Regions from separate parts of the Homo sapiens genome. Here regions 2, 3, 4 and 5 are each linked to region 1. The links are contacts of gene promoters, found by promoter capture Hi-C in human tissues and cell types (Jung and others, 2019). All regions are on one chromosome and are shown on one strand. The core of a region is centred on a gene start or on the middle of the fragment in contact, and the rest is flanking DNA. Distances in the headings are between cores, read along the strand shown.

What was found. Contacts are between HindIII fragments. The study calls those that stand out against the background at their distance.
Region 2: a contact is called between a fragment that was not itself captured here and the fragment with the promoter of NFE2L1 in region 1, in 1 of the 25 tissues and cell types used here (bladder).
Region 3: a contact is called between a fragment that was not itself captured here and the fragment with the promoter of NFE2L1 in region 1, in 1 of the 25 tissues and cell types used here (mesenchymal stem cells).
Region 4: a fragment that was not itself captured here is called in contact with the fragment with the promoter of NFE2L1 in region 1 in 1 of the 25 tissues and cell types used here (H1 embryonic stem cells).
Region 5: a fragment that was not itself captured here is called in contact with the fragment with the promoter of NFE2L1 in region 1 in 1 of the 25 tissues and cell types used here (mesendoderm cells).

The regions. Positions count from the first base shown.
Region 1 is chr17:48,046,957-48,049,837 of GRCh38, reverse strand. It overlaps NFE2L1 (NFE2 like bZIP transcription factor 1), which reads right to left and starts at 1,479. Exons shown (of 6, transcript NM_003204.3): 1 at 1,376-1,479. NFE2L1-DT (NFE2L1 divergent transcript) reads left to right here and starts at 1,785. Exons shown (of 2, transcript NR_170231.1): 1 at 1,785-2,213; 2 at 2,868-2,881. It also overlaps a transcript of COPZ2 not described here. RefSeq lists a silencer at 1,070-1,349 and enhancers at 900-1,501, 1,760-1,999, 1,502-2,103, 2,070-2,259, 2,104-2,707. The HindIII fragment of the contact is 14,336 bases long and covers 1-2,881 here.
Region 2 is chr17:48,496,409-48,499,289 of GRCh38, reverse strand. No RefSeq gene overlaps it. Among named protein-coding and RNA genes, the nearest start is that of HOXB1, 33 kb to the left of the region's middle. The HindIII fragment of the contact is 6,789 bases long and covers 1-2,881 here.
Region 3 is chr17:48,400,590-48,403,470 of GRCh38, reverse strand. The region is part of intron 1 of SKAP1 (src kinase associated phosphoprotein 1); the gene reads left to right. Among named protein-coding and RNA genes, the nearest start is that of SKAP1, 28 kb to the left of the region's middle. The HindIII fragment of the contact is 6,433 bases long and covers 1-2,881 here.
Region 4 is chr17:48,359,240-48,362,120 of GRCh38, reverse strand. The region is part of intron 3 of SKAP1 (src kinase associated phosphoprotein 1); the gene reads left to right. Among named protein-coding and RNA genes, the nearest start is that of SKAP1-AS2, 66 kb to the right of the region's middle. The HindIII fragment of the contact is 4,001 bases long and covers 1-2,881 here.
Region 5 is chr17:48,341,837-48,344,717 of GRCh38, reverse strand. All of the region lies in intron 4 of SKAP1 (src kinase associated phosphoprotein 1), which reads left to right. Among named protein-coding and RNA genes, the nearest start is that of SKAP1-AS2, 49 kb to the right of the region's middle. The HindIII fragment of the contact is 7,800 bases long and covers 1-2,881 here.

The sequences.
Region 1 (2,881 bases), core at 230-2,729:
AAAGGCAAGATTATTAAACAGTGAGAGTGTGGAAGGACAAAAGGACAATGTTCAGGCCACCACTTCACCCAGAAGAAGAATGCCTTTTGTTTTCTGAACTTTGAAATCTGATTTCCCTTTCCTATCCTCACAACTTACAAAAGAAAAAAAAGGAAAAGGGCCGACGCCTGTAATCCCAGCACTTCGGGAGGCCGAGGAGGGCGGATCACCCGAGGTCGGGAGTTTGAGACCAGCCTGAACAACATGGAGAAACCCCATCTCAACTAAAAATACAAAAATTAGCCGGGCGTGGTGGCGCATGCCTGTAATCCCAGCTACTCGGGAGGCTGAGACAGGAGAATCGCTTGAACCCAGGAAACGGAGGTTGTGGTGGGCCGATATCGCGCCACTGCACTCCAGCCTGGGCAACAAGAGCAAAACTCCGTCTCAAAAAAAGAAAAAAAAGAAAGAAAAGAAAAGGAAAGAAAAAAAGGAGAGGGATGGTGGGGGCCCTACTACGCAGGACTATTCCGTCCAGAATTTGCATAGGCAGGTTTTATTTTCATTCATATGACCTTCTGAGCCAAAGCAGAAGGATATGGCCACGTTCTCTAGCCAGACTGCCCAGTGCAGAGGAAGTAAATCTGTTTCTGGTCTCCACTTTTGAGCTTCCATTAATGTCACAAACCAAGACATACCGCCTCTCCTCTCCTGCGTTGTGACCCATCTACCAACTTCATTCTACAGGGGGAGAGCGAGCTATACGTACACACACGAACGTGCGCACACACACACACTCACACTCCCTCTCTCTGGTCAGAGTAAACACAATTGCGACCCAGAATTCCTGCTTACGCTACCCTCCCGTTCTCACGCAATTTATTACTAAAACCTCCCAGGAGCCAATTAAGTTCGAGGAACCGGACAAAGTCCCTTAAAAATCAAGTAGGTGCAGGGCCCATAGCCTGAGGCTGGTCCCACCCTGCCCGGATACCCGAGTCCGGCTGAGACCAAGTCGCCATGCCCACTCTCGGCGCCGGAGCTTCTAGCCTCCAGGGGCGGCCAGCGAACAAGTGCTACTTCCCTGGCCTTGACCCACCCTTACAGCAAACCCCACCCCGCCCTCCGTCCCGATGGCCCCACCCCACTCCCAAGTCCAGGCCTCACACCACGCCTTCTCGTGCCCTCAACCCTGCCCAGTCCATCCCACCCCGGAGCCAGCTTTCCTCTCGGCCCCGCGCGGGGCCCCTCCCTGTCAGGCCCAGGGCCGGGCTCTGGCGGGAACCCCGCTCGGCCCCCGCCTCCTGCACCTCAGCACCATCCCGTCGCCCCATAAGCCTCGGCCCCGCGGCGCTGCAACCCTCCCTTCTGGGAAAGGAATGTGCCCGATACCCACTGCTTAGCTCGGCGTCCGCCGCTGCCTCCACAGCAGGCCCTAAGCCCGAGTCCCGGCCTCGCCGCCGCCACCGCCGGCCGGCCTAGAGCTCGGAGCCTCCGCTTACCTCCCCGCCCCCTCCTGCTACCGCACTCGGAAACCCGCCCGCCGCAAACACCCTAGGAACAGTTTCTCCAATCAACGAGCCGAGGCCGGGGCCGTCGACGGATGTCCCTCTGATTGGCAGCAGAGAGGGCCCAATGGCTGAGTGTACCTCCTCATCCCCGGACCTGATTTCCCAAGACTGACATAATTCCCGGCCCAATGAGTACCTAGGCCCGCCCCGCGGTATGGACCCACCAATGAGGAGGGCGAAGGCCCTAGTGTCTGGCATTCTGGGCCCCTCGGCCGCGCCTTCGCGGCGGGCGATGTTAGTGGGCTTGGGCGTTGGGTGAAGTATCCAGGTTGGGCGCTTCCAGCGCTTTCTGTGGCGGGGGAATGAAGGCCTAGGTCAGGGAATAGGAAGGTGTATCGCCGCCAGAGTGCGGAACACCCTCGCCTTGAGGGTTCCCACAGTGACTTGCAAAAGTCTAGTGAGACCCGAGAATGCTGAGGCGGGACACGAAGCATGTGGTTCTTGTGGTTGCGACGCTCGTGCCGCCATCTTGGGTGCTGGCGGCGGAAACCGGTACCCCAACTTCCCCTCGGTGCGAACCTGGAGAAGCCACCCCAGCTGTGAGGGACGGTTGCGCCTCATGGCCCAGGCAAGGGTACCTTCGCTGGAGCAGTACCGCGGACGGATATCATGAGGGTGGTGGGACGTTGGCGGAACGTTGGCGGAACGTTGGCGGTGTGAGAGGTGTGGGGTAATGGCGATTTTTGTCATGGTAGAAACAGCCCAAAGGACCCCCCTCGTTTGGCCTCCCACGCAGCTTAGTCTTGCTTTTTTAGGGATGTTTCTCATTTTTTAATTTCTCCAGTCCCATCTGGTTATATTGCCAAAACATGTTTGTGACTCTCAAACGTTAGTTTACTCCCAGCATCACTTGGGGAGCTTGCTAAGCTACGAATTCCGAGGTCCCACTGGAGAGTCTGATTTAATGACCCTGGAGTGGCGGCCGGATAACCTGCCTGCTGGGGTGATTTTAACGCAGCTGATGCGAAGACCCCATTTAGGGAATCATTGGGTTGGCGTTTGCAATGCGTTCCTCCCAGCTATAGGACAAAGAGGTGTCAACTCAACTGTGTCTTCTTAGAAGAGCCCATTATTTATAGGTGAGTCATTAGTCCCTGTACAACTAAGGACAAGGCCAACTGATAACTCAGTAAATAATCGAGTCCATTTTGTGCTTGCGAGTTAGGGGCTTAATTTGGGGTGGTTTGCAGATTAAGTACTTTCACTGCATATAATAAACGTACACCAGCAAACCACTCATGGAATTCTTAAAAAAACTTCTGAGCTAGTTTACCAGTTTCAAAGACTAATTCAGAGAGCATGTTTTACCTATTCTAGGCTGGACTGGAACT
Region 2 (2,881 bases), core at 159-2,658, 450 kb before region 1:
GGTGGAGTCTTGTTCTGTTGCCCAGGCTGGAGTGCAGTGGCATGATCTTGGCTCACTGCAACCTCTACCCACCCAGGTTCAAGCAATTCTCCTGCCTCAGCCTCCCAAGTAGCTGAGATTACAGGTGCCTGCCACCATGCCTGGCTAATTTTTGTATTCTTAGTGGAGACAGGGTTTTACCATGTTGGCCAGGCTGTTCTCACACTCCTGACCTCAAGTGATCCGGACAGGGCAAGTATTTTTATTTCGAATTCATATAATTGGAAACCAAGGCTCGGAGGTCAGGCGACTTGCCCATGCTCACACAACTAAACGGAGAGGTTGGAATCTGAGCCTAGCTCTTTTGACTCCAGATGCCAAGCTCTGCCTACTATGCCATTATTCAGAAGTGGAGACAAAGTAGCTGACTTGATGCAAATGTGTTATCCTGAGACATGACCTCTTTGTGCTGCTGATTGTGTTTCTCACCTGAAGTAGTGTTAAGAAGCTTTCTGAAAGAGGATAAGCTATAATGATGAATTCAGTTCTCCCTTCAGTCCTTTTTTTTCCCCCAGCCACCTAACAGCATCTCTAACCCTGGCCAAATACTACACAAGCACGGGCTGTTAGCAATAATTGCCAGCACCTGTCACAGTGCCTGGCATTTAGTAGGCACTCAACACATGTTTGTTGAGCCAAATAGAATTACCTAGCATTAGCAAAAGCTCTCAGTCTGATTACCAAGGCACACTGGTAAAGAAGCGTTCTGGGTCTTCGTGACTTCTCTCTCTAGTCCTGCAGAAACATTGAAATTACAGGTCCTCCAGACAAGAATTAGTGACACCATCTTTTTAACTCGAAGGACAGATTTTCAAAACAAATTCTATTGTCTCTGTCTCTCTGTGTCCTGAGCAGGGCTCAAGCCAACAGCTGCAAAAGCCTGAAGTTGATGAGTGTGGAATTTACATGCTTACACTGGAAAACAGGCTCTGCTGCATTTTCTTTGACTGGAAGCAGGAAGTGTGGGAAAAGTCAAGCGCATTGACTGAATCCAGTTTGGAGCCAGGGGTCAGCAGAAGGAGATTGTTGGGTGGCAGTAACTGTGGACTGCCTGTTAACATCCGCTAATGTTTGGGGTTCTCTCTGAGATTTTTGATGGGAAAAACCTGAAGTTAACCAGGCAGGGGATCTCAGTGCATCAAACGGACACAGGGCTGAATGGGAAATGCCTAGTTTTCTTTGCTCCCTTCCCCAAGAGGGCAGAAATGAAGGAAAGTTCTGAGGAGAGTTGAATTATTATGCTGCAAGAAGTTTTCTGAAGATCTGCGTTATGAAGATGGATCCCATTAGTAAATTTGACAGCTATTCCACTCCTCCTTGCATTTTAGCATCTCAAGCCAAAATATAAATGAAAGGAATACACTATATCTCAAAGGAAGCTATCAATCCTTACCCTCCCTGAGTGGGCACAATTTGGGGGTTCTTCTACTTAGGTTGGGCTGGTTTTGCTGCTTTACCCACATACTCTCATCCAACACTCTTTGTGTCTGGTGAAGTCTGTGAGCCATCAGACAGAGAAGTCTATAATTTTATCTTCCTTTGTGCGCATCAGACCCTACGCTGCAGAGTGAGGGAAGCCTATGTGCAACAAGACACAATGTGGCCTTTGATCATATGAAGATTGGAGAGGCTTGGTTCATCCTTGCCCAGCTTCTTTGGAAATCAGCACAATGACATTTTCCCTTCTATATAGTGATCTGGGTAGGCAGGGATAATACAATATAATATAGTATAGTATAATATAGTATAATATAAATGACTTTTTTCCTTCTATATAATGATCTGGGCAGGCAGGGATTCAAGTCTTCTGATATGGGTGGGAGAAAGCCCTCCCTTTGTCCTTACCCTGCTCAACTTGTTTTGGCCAGGAAATCTAGCCTTGGGATTTTCTAAGAGTTAGATCAGAAAGGAAGAGAGTACTAGGCTGGGAGTAGTGGCTTACGTCTGAGACATACTAGGCAGGAAGTGGTGGCTTATGCCTGTAATCCAAGCACTTTGGGAAGCTGAGACGGGAGGATCACTTGAGCCCAGGAGTTTGAGACCAACCTGGGTAGCATAGTGAAACCCTGACTCATTTATTTAACTTAAAAAAAAATTAAAATAAGAGAGTACCAGCTTCAGGGTATATCTATTAGATATGTCAGTTTCCAGGGGTTGTTTGCAGGGATGTATAACCCCATTCCTATTCCCTTTAATTTAGCTGGTTTTTCGTCTCATAGCATTGCTGGGGGCAGGTAGGTTTCTTTCCCTTCCTACTATTCCACCCACTCAGATCTTCTACTCCAAGCTATTTGTAAGCTCATTCATTCATCCAACACATATGGGACACCAATAGCGTGCAGAGCACCACATAGGCATGGGAGAGAACTGACCACTTCTTCCTTGGCACCCCAGTGTTCCCTATGCAGACTTCTGTCACAAACCTAACAGCATTTTATTGCATTTATTTGATATGTCTTCAGATATCTCCCTTTAAAAGACAATACACAGCTGAGGGAAGGAATTGTACTAGTATTTTTTTTTTTTTTTTGAGACGGCGTCTGGCTCTGTCACCCAGGCTGGAGTGCAATGGCGTGATGTCAGCTCACTGCAATCTCCACCCCCCGGGTTCGAGCGGTTCTCCTGCCTCGGCCTCCTAAGTAGCTGGGACTACAGGCGCCCGCCAGCATGCCCAGCTAACTTTTTTTAAAAATATTTTTAATAGAGACGGGGTTTCACCATGTTGGCCTGGATGGTCTCGATCTCCTAACCTCGTGATCTGCCCGCCTCGGCCTCCCAAAGTGCTGGGATTACAGGCATGAGCCACCGTGCCCGGCCTAGTATTTGTTTTTATCCTAAGTGT
Region 3 (2,881 bases), core at 212-2,711, 350 kb before region 1:
ATTTATACACACACACACACTGATACATATATATATATGTATATATATTTTAACTATGATTTTCAAAGTGTAAATGTAATAAAAAATATTCAATATAGTATTTTGAGACAGAGTCTTGCACTGTCACCCAGCTGGAATGCAGTGGGTTAATCACCGCTCTCTGCAACCTTGAACTCCTGGGCTCAATGGATCCTACTGTCTCAGCCTCCCAAGTAGCTACAGGCGTGCACCACCATGTCCAGTTAATTAAAAACTTTTTTTTTTTTTTTTTGTAGAGACAGGGTCTTGATTTTTGCCCAGGCTTGTCTTGAACTCCTGGGCTCAAGCAGTTCTCCTACCTTGGCTTCCCAAAATGCTGAGATTACAGGTATTTATTTATTTTTTTAAACAGCTTCATTGAGATATAATTCACATACTATACAACTCACACATTTAAAGCATACAACTCAATGGCTTCTAGTATATTCACAGAATTGTGTAACTATCACCACAGTAAATTTTAGAACATTTTCATTACACCGAAAGAAAACCTGAACCTCTTAGCCTTCACTCTCCAATCCCTCTTCCTGACTTTCTTTATCTACTTTCTGTCTCTTTAGATCTGCCTATTCTATACATTTCATGTAAATGGAATCATACGATATGTGGTCCTTTGTGACTGGCTCCTTTCACTTAGCATAATGATTTTAAAGATTCATCCATGTTGTAGCACATATCAGCATTTCATTTCCTTTTATTGCTGAATAATATTCCATTGTATGCTACATTTTATCTATCCATTCATCAGTTAATGGATATTTGGGTTGTTTCCACTTTTTAGCTATTAAGAATAATGCTGCTATGCCAGGCATGGTGGCTCACGCCTGTAATCCCAGCAATTTGGGAAGCCAAGGCAGGCAGTTTGCTTGAGTCTAGGAGTTCAAGACCAGCCTGGGCGAAGTGATGAAACCCCATCTCTACTAAAAATACAAAAATTAACCCAGCATGGTGGCATGCACCTGTAATCCCAGCTACTTGGGGGGCTGAGGCACGAGAATCACTTGAATCCGGGAGGCAGAGGTTGCAGTGAGCTGAGATCGCACCACTGCCCTCCAGCCTGGGCAATAGAGCGAGACTCTGTCTCAAAAAAAAAAAAAATGCTGCTATGAATATTTGTGTAAAGTTTTTGTGTCAGCACCTGTTTTCATTTCTTTTGGGTATTTCCTAGTAATATAATTTCTGGATCCTATGATAATTCTCTGTTTAGCCTTTTGAGGAACTGCTAGATTATTTTTCTAAGTGGCTGCACTGTTTTACATTCCTACCAGCAATGTATAAGGTTTCCAATTTTTCTACATTTTCAACAACATTCATTGTTGTTCTTTTCGCCTGTAACCATTCTAGTGGGTGTGAAGTGGTATTTCATGATTTTGATTTGCATTTCCCTGATGGCTAGTGATATTGAACATCTTTTAATGTGCTTATTGGTCATTTGTGTATCTTCTTTAGAGATATGTCTATTCAGTTCCTTTTCTCATTTTTCAGTTGGGCTATTTGTCTTATTATTACTGAAATATAAGAGTTTTAATATATTCTACATACAAGTCTTTCATCAGCTATATGATTTGCAAAAGCTTTTCTCTCATTCTGTGGGTTATCCTTTTGCTTTCTTGTTGGCCTTCTTTGAAGCACAATAGCTTTTAAATTTGATGATGCCTTGTTTGTCTATTTTTGTATTTGGTTGCTTTTTTTTTCTTGGTGTCATATCTAAGAAACCATTACCTAATCCAAGGACCCAAAGATTTACACCTGTCTTTTTCTAAGAGTTTCATAGTTTTAGCTCTTATATTTAGGTCTTTGATCCATTTTTAGTTAATTTTTTTATATGGTGTGAGGTAGGAATCCAACTTCATTCTTTTGCATGTGTATACTCAGTTGTCTCAGCACCATTTGTTGAAAAAACAACTTTTTCAACATTTAATTGTCTTGACCCTCTTGCAAAAATTGACCATAAGTGTGAGGGTTTATTTCTGGATTCCCAATTCTATTCCTTTGAACTTTATCTCTGTCCTTATGCCAGTACCATATTTTCCTAATTGCTGTAGTTTTGTGGTAAGTTTTGAAGTCAGAAAGTGTGAGTCCTCCAAATTTGTCTTTCTTTTTCTTTCCTTTTTTTTTTCTTTTTTGAGACAGAGTCTTGCTCTGTTGCCTAGGTTGGAGTGCAGTGGCATGATCTCGGCTCACTGCAACCTCGGCCTCCCAGGTTCAAACAATTATTCTGCCTCAGCCTCCCAAGTGGCTGGGATTACAGGCACTAGCCACCACACTCAGCTAATTTTTGTATTTTTAGTAGAGACAGGGTTTCTCCGTGTTGACCAGTCTGGTCTTGAACTCCTGACCTCAGGTGATCCACCCGTCTCAGCCTCCCAAAGTGCTGGGATTACGAGTGTGAGCCAACACGCCCGGCCATTGTCTCTCTTTTTCAAAATTGTTTTGGCTATCTGGATTCCTTACATTTCCAAGTTAATTTTAGGATTAGCTTTTCAATTTCTACAAAAAAAGCCAGCTGGGATTTTGATAGGGGTTACATAAAAGCTTTAGATCAGTTTGGGGAGTATTGCCATTTTAACGATATTAAGTCTTCTGATCATGAACATAGAATATGTTCTATTTATTCGTAAGTGCTTAATTCTTAATTCTTTTACCTGCTTTATTTCTTTTCTTTTTTTTTAATTTTTATTTTTGAGATAAGGTCTTGCTCTGTCACCCAGCCTGGAGTGCAGTGATGTGATCTCAGCTCACTGCAGCCTCAACCTCCCTGGGCTCAAATGAGGCCACCTTAGCCTCCTGAGCAGCTGGGACCACAGATGTGCACCACCATGCCTGGCTAATTTTTGTATTT
Region 4 (2,881 bases), core at 179-2,678, 310 kb before region 1:
AAACTGTATTTGCTTCTTGACAATGATTAAATATATGTGGCAAAGTCTTAGTGCATTTGGAAGTAAATGTAAGGAAAGATGACATAGAAAAACTCATGCCCTAGCCCCCAGTCTCATGACTTCTCACAGATATTTTCAGGGGTAGGAGGAGTTAGTGAGAGGGTATCTTTTACCTTGCCCTTTTGATCAGACCTTAGCTGATTATGTGCTTCAGAAGCTGGTGGGATGGGTAGGAGGAGTAAGTGGTTTAGATAAGGTACAACAGGACAATTTAAGATTATGAAAAGATTAGAAATATGTAAGAAAGAGAACAACTAGCAGAAGAATCTTAAAAGCCCTGGAAAACTGGGTGGTGTTGGGATGGGAGTGAGAAAGAACAGAAATGCTGGCCCCAAACTTTCTGAGCATTTTTATCTGTGACAGGACCCTCTGTACAAGAAGATGATGGGATGAATTTTATTAACTCTGCATCTGCCTAAAAACACACTTGAGTTCTTCAAGATATTTGAACTAAACCAGGTCTGGTGCCTGGAAGGAAAATAGTCTTTAATTATAAAAGATCCATTATTTGTATATCCTTTTAGTAGCACACATTTTAAAAATAGCAGCCTTGGCCGGGTGCGGTGGCTCATGCCTATAATCCCAGTACTTTGGGAGGCTGAGGCAGGCAGGTGGATCACCTGAGGTCAGGAGTTCGAGACCAGCCTGACCAACATGGTGAAACCCTGTCTCTACTACATACAAAAAATTAGCTGGGAGTGGTGGTGCATGCCTGTAGTCCCAGCCACTTGGGAGGCTGAGGCAGGAGAGTCGCTTGAACCTGGGAGACGGAGGTTGCAGTGAGCCGAGATTGTGTCATTGCACTCAAGCCTGGGCAACACGAGCAAAACTCTGTCTCAAAAAGAAAAAAAAAAAAAAACCAAGGCAGCCTTATCAAGATATAATTCACATACCATAAAATTTACCCATTTAAAAGGTACAAGTTAGTGGTGTACAGTATAGTATAGTATAGTATAGTATAGTATAGTATAGTATAGTATAGTATAGTACAGTACAAGTTGTGCAACCATCACCACTATCTAATTTCAGAACGTTTCATCACCCCAATAAGAAACCCTGTATGGATTCTAGAGCCCATTATCTCCAGAGGTCGAGAGCCCATACTCTTCGTGACTGTTTTTCACTGTCTCATTGCAAGGTTGTTGAAGATTAGTAGTAATGTGTGTAAGCATCGAGCTTAGTACCTTGACATAGTGGGAAAAAAAAAGCCAGTAGTTTCTATTTATCATAATGGGACATTAATGGTAATTCTTTCTCTCACATTTCCACCTGCGTTTTTTTATTGGTCCACTGTCAACTTCCTGAATGATATTTATTTTAAAAAGGAAACAGGGAAAATAAAACATGATCCAAAGAATACATTACTTTAATGTAGAGGGGATATAAATGGAAGGGCACTTTTAATGAGCTTAAACATAATTGGAGAACATGAAAGAGGCTTTTTATTTTTACTTGACAATAAGACATAATATTGCTTTAATAATTCATGTCCTGCTTACTCAAAAAAAATTTCTACTTAATTTTTTACTTAAAGTTACAAAGAAAAGCCAGCGGAGTTTTTGCCATGGAATTTTTATAATTTCAGTAATCAATATCTAAAAGGTGATATCGATAAGGGAATATTAATTTTGCCCTTAGATTTGATGGCAATATCACTTAAAGTTATTGAGCAAACTGATTTCCTTCATTTTGCTTCAGTTTCCCCTTTTATAAAATGAGTTAGTGATAGTTTTAATAAAAAATTTGATTATAAGGTATAATGTTTATAATTCAAAATTTATTTGCTATAAAAAAATCTTCATGAATATTAGATTGAATTTCCCACCATAGACCCAGAATCTAAAACAAATGACATAATATTTAAATAAAAATCTAGGGAAGACCATGGGAATATTATATAGAATAATATCTTTTTTTTATCCAGTGGTCACTCACATTACATTTGTGGTAGTGGTAAACATGGGCCAGTGGAATCTCTTGCCAACTTAAAGATTCTTTGAGTATCTCTATGAGTGGTGTAAAAGGTTTCTGAGAAAATTATTCAGTATATTTCATTATGAAAAAATTCTACTTTGTGAAGCTTAAAAATCTCATTTTGAAATGGCAAGCCTATATTCACGTCAAAGTAAATCGATGCCTAATAATATAGCCTGGCAGGCCAGGCACAGTGGCTCATGCCTGTAGTCCCAGCACTTTGGGAGGCTGAGCAGGTAGATTGCTTGAGCCCAGGAGTTTGAGATCAATCTGGGCAACATGGTGAGACCCTGTGTCTACAAAAAAAACAAAATTAGCTGGGCATGGTGGCACAGGCCTGTAGTCCTAGCTGCTTGGGAGGCTGAGGTGGGAGGATCACTCAAGCCTGGCAGGTTGAGACTGCAGTGAGCCGAGATCGCGCCACTGCACTTCAGCATAGGAGACCGAGCGAGACCTTGTCCCAAACACACAAACAAAGAAATAAACAAATAAAAATATAGCCTGGCAAAAACAAATAGTGCTAAGTGAATAAGGAAATTATAAAGCCATGTTAACTGTAAATTAAGAGATTTAAGAGGTTTACCAACGAATGTATAAACTTTGTGCATTCTGAGTCAAGCAAACTATTAAAAAATGACATCTATGAGAGAATTAGAAATTTGAACACTGGTTATTTTATGTTATTAGGAAACTACTGGATTTTTTTAGGTGTAGCAGTGGTATTATGGTTAATTTTTTTAAAAACAGTTCTTTATTTCAGAGAGAGGTGTGCCATGATATTTAAATATATAATGTCTGACAAATAATATGGGAGAGGAGAAAGAAACAGGGTAAATATAGATGAGAT
Region 5 (2,881 bases), core at 113-2,612, 290 kb before region 1:
TTAAAATGGGGTTTGTAATATAGGATCTGTGTATTGATTCAGGTATTACACTAAAAACATTGTTTGGATTGAAAGTTTAATAATTACATTGGTAGCTGATTAATAATTGTAGAAAATTAACAGTGCAAAACAGGAAGAAATCAACTTTTCATTTGTTTTTGATTATTCTAATGCTTGACAGAATTAGAACAATAATGCCTCATTAATCCTTAGGTCACTTATTTGGTATTTCCAACTTTCCCAAACACAACTGAGAACACAATAAGTAATCCAGAAAGGCCTCTAAGTGGAAATAGATGTGACTTATGTACCTTGCTCTTGGAAGAACCCCTAAGGCCCTTTGCTGAGGAATCTTCTTACAAGTTTCTAACCAATACAGTGTTTTGGTTTCTCAGCCCACAGTAGAGCTTCAAATTAGAAGAAGGGGTACTATAAAGGCATCAATTAACAATAAGATTAAGGTAAGAAACAAGAACAAAACTTTATATAGAAAACAAAATCTATAAATAAAATTTATCTAAGAATAATTTTTTTTAAATAGCAGTTTGGGGTCATTTTCTATGATAGAGAAAAAGAGTGCATGCTCACCTAAGTGCTCAGTACCTTAATAAATTAAAACTTCTTTAGCCAGCATTTATTGTTTATTGAGCACTTACTATTTGCCTTGCATCATCTGTATGGTAAGCACTCTGCATATGTCATCATTTGATCCTCAAGACTGCCCTAAAATGTGGATATTAGGTTTACCCTTATTTTACAGACAAGGAAACAGACTCAGGGAAGTTAACTTATCTAAAATCACACAGCTGGTACGTAGTAGTGCCAGGATTTACACATACATAGTCTGGTTCTAAAACCTCTGCTCTTAACCACTCTACTATCCTTACCACTATCCTTATCTGAGATATCCAAAAAAATAGATTCATACTCCAAACATTTTGGCAGATTCATACTCCAAACATTTTGGCTAAGACCATACAGATAAAAATACTATGCTTAAAAATATTTTCATTAAAATAGTTGAAATTTAGGAAAAACATTTGTGTTGAAAGAGGTAAATCTGGAAAACTCCAAAGTGCAAAACTCATAAGAGGAGTTAATTATATTAGTAATATTAAATTCTTACTTAATAAATTTTTGTTTTTAGTTCTATGCATGAAATTAAAGAATTCCCAAAGTGACATAGTCAATGGTAGAGGTAGGAATAGACCTATTTCTATGTTAAAAACTTGATTGTAAGATGATGTGATACTGTTTAAATGTGAGTTTCTGCAAAGCATTGAATCTAGCACAGTGCCTGAGTGCCTAATACATAACAGGCACAATAAATGTTCATTTTCATCCCCTGAAAATTAAAGATACATACATTTCCTGTGAAATTAAAGAGAAAGTTATAAAGGTGTCAAAATTTTTAGCAATCTCTATATCCTATTTAATTAGTTTTTACCATTATAGAGAATGGTAACACTTGATATGCTACTTATTCATTTTTTTAAACAAATGTTTGTTTAAAGATTCCTAGTTAACACCAAGACACTGTGTTAAGCTGCAGGTGAAAAATGCAGTGAGAAAGCAGATACAGTCCCTGCCCTCATGGAGCTTACCATCTCACTGGGAAAACTATTAATAAGTAGACAAATAAAAAAATATAAAGTTAGTGTCTTTATAGATAGCTAAGTCAATTATTTATGAAGAAAAAATATTCCTCTTTATTTTTTATTATTATTTTTTTTGAGACAGAGTTTCGCTCTGTCACCCAGGCTAGAGTGCAGTGGTGGGATCTCGGCTCACTGCAAACTCTGCCTCCTGGGTTCACGCCATTCTCCTGCCTCAGCCTCCCAAGTAGCTGGGACTATAGGCGCCGGCCACCGCGCCTGGCTAATTTTTTGTATTTTTAGTAGAGACGGGGTTTCACCGTGTTAGCCAGGATGGTCTCGATCTCCTGACTTCGTGATCCACCCGCCTTGGCCTCCCAGATATTCCTCTTTAACATTCTTTGTAATGACAGTTATTTTAGGCTTCTCGAATTTTGTCTTCATTAGAAAATGTGAAAATATTTCAGATATTTTGTCTTCCACTGTCAGCTAGAGTAGTATCCTAGACTTGCCATTATAAAAGGATACACAGTCGGGCCCATCCACCCATAATTTTAGTGATGAGGGGCAGTAACCATGCTGCATATTGTGTTTAGGTCATGACTTTGTGAAAACTACAAAGAGTGCTAGAAGAATATAGAAGCATGCTGCATATTGTGTTTAGGTCATGACTTTGTGAAAACTACAAAGAGTGCTAGAAGAATATAGAAACCTGGCCAGGTACACAGCAAAAAATGAAAACCAAGGTTACAGGCTAACCCATGCATAAAAATGAGAGCCTGTTGCTACCTAATTACAATTCCTTCTCCTTTTCCTTTGTAAATGCCCACAATTTGAAGGCAGAGAGAGACACCCACAAGAGCACAGCCCCACCATCGGGAACAAAAACTTGCTAACAAGTAATAACATTTAGATTTCTGAACTAAAAGCATAGTTTTTACCATATGGAAGGAAAAAAATGTAGTAGGAAACACTGACCACAATACTTAGTACAAGAGCCAGGCAACTACAAAGCTCAAGATCTGATTGTTTTCAGCGTCCAAATATACAGTGGATTTTAATGTATTTATAAACTTACTTTGTTAGTATAATGAAGAATCCCTGCATACCTACATTATTTTTTAAAGTGGATTGGGGAAAGTGATCATTCTGTAAGCAGGATATAGTGACTCCTTCTGGAAGAAAAAGAAAAAATAAAATTATTTTAGAAGAAACCTAAAATCTATGATAATGTATTTATTTGTTATATATGTTTACGTTCTAATTAAAGAATGGGTGAATGGATA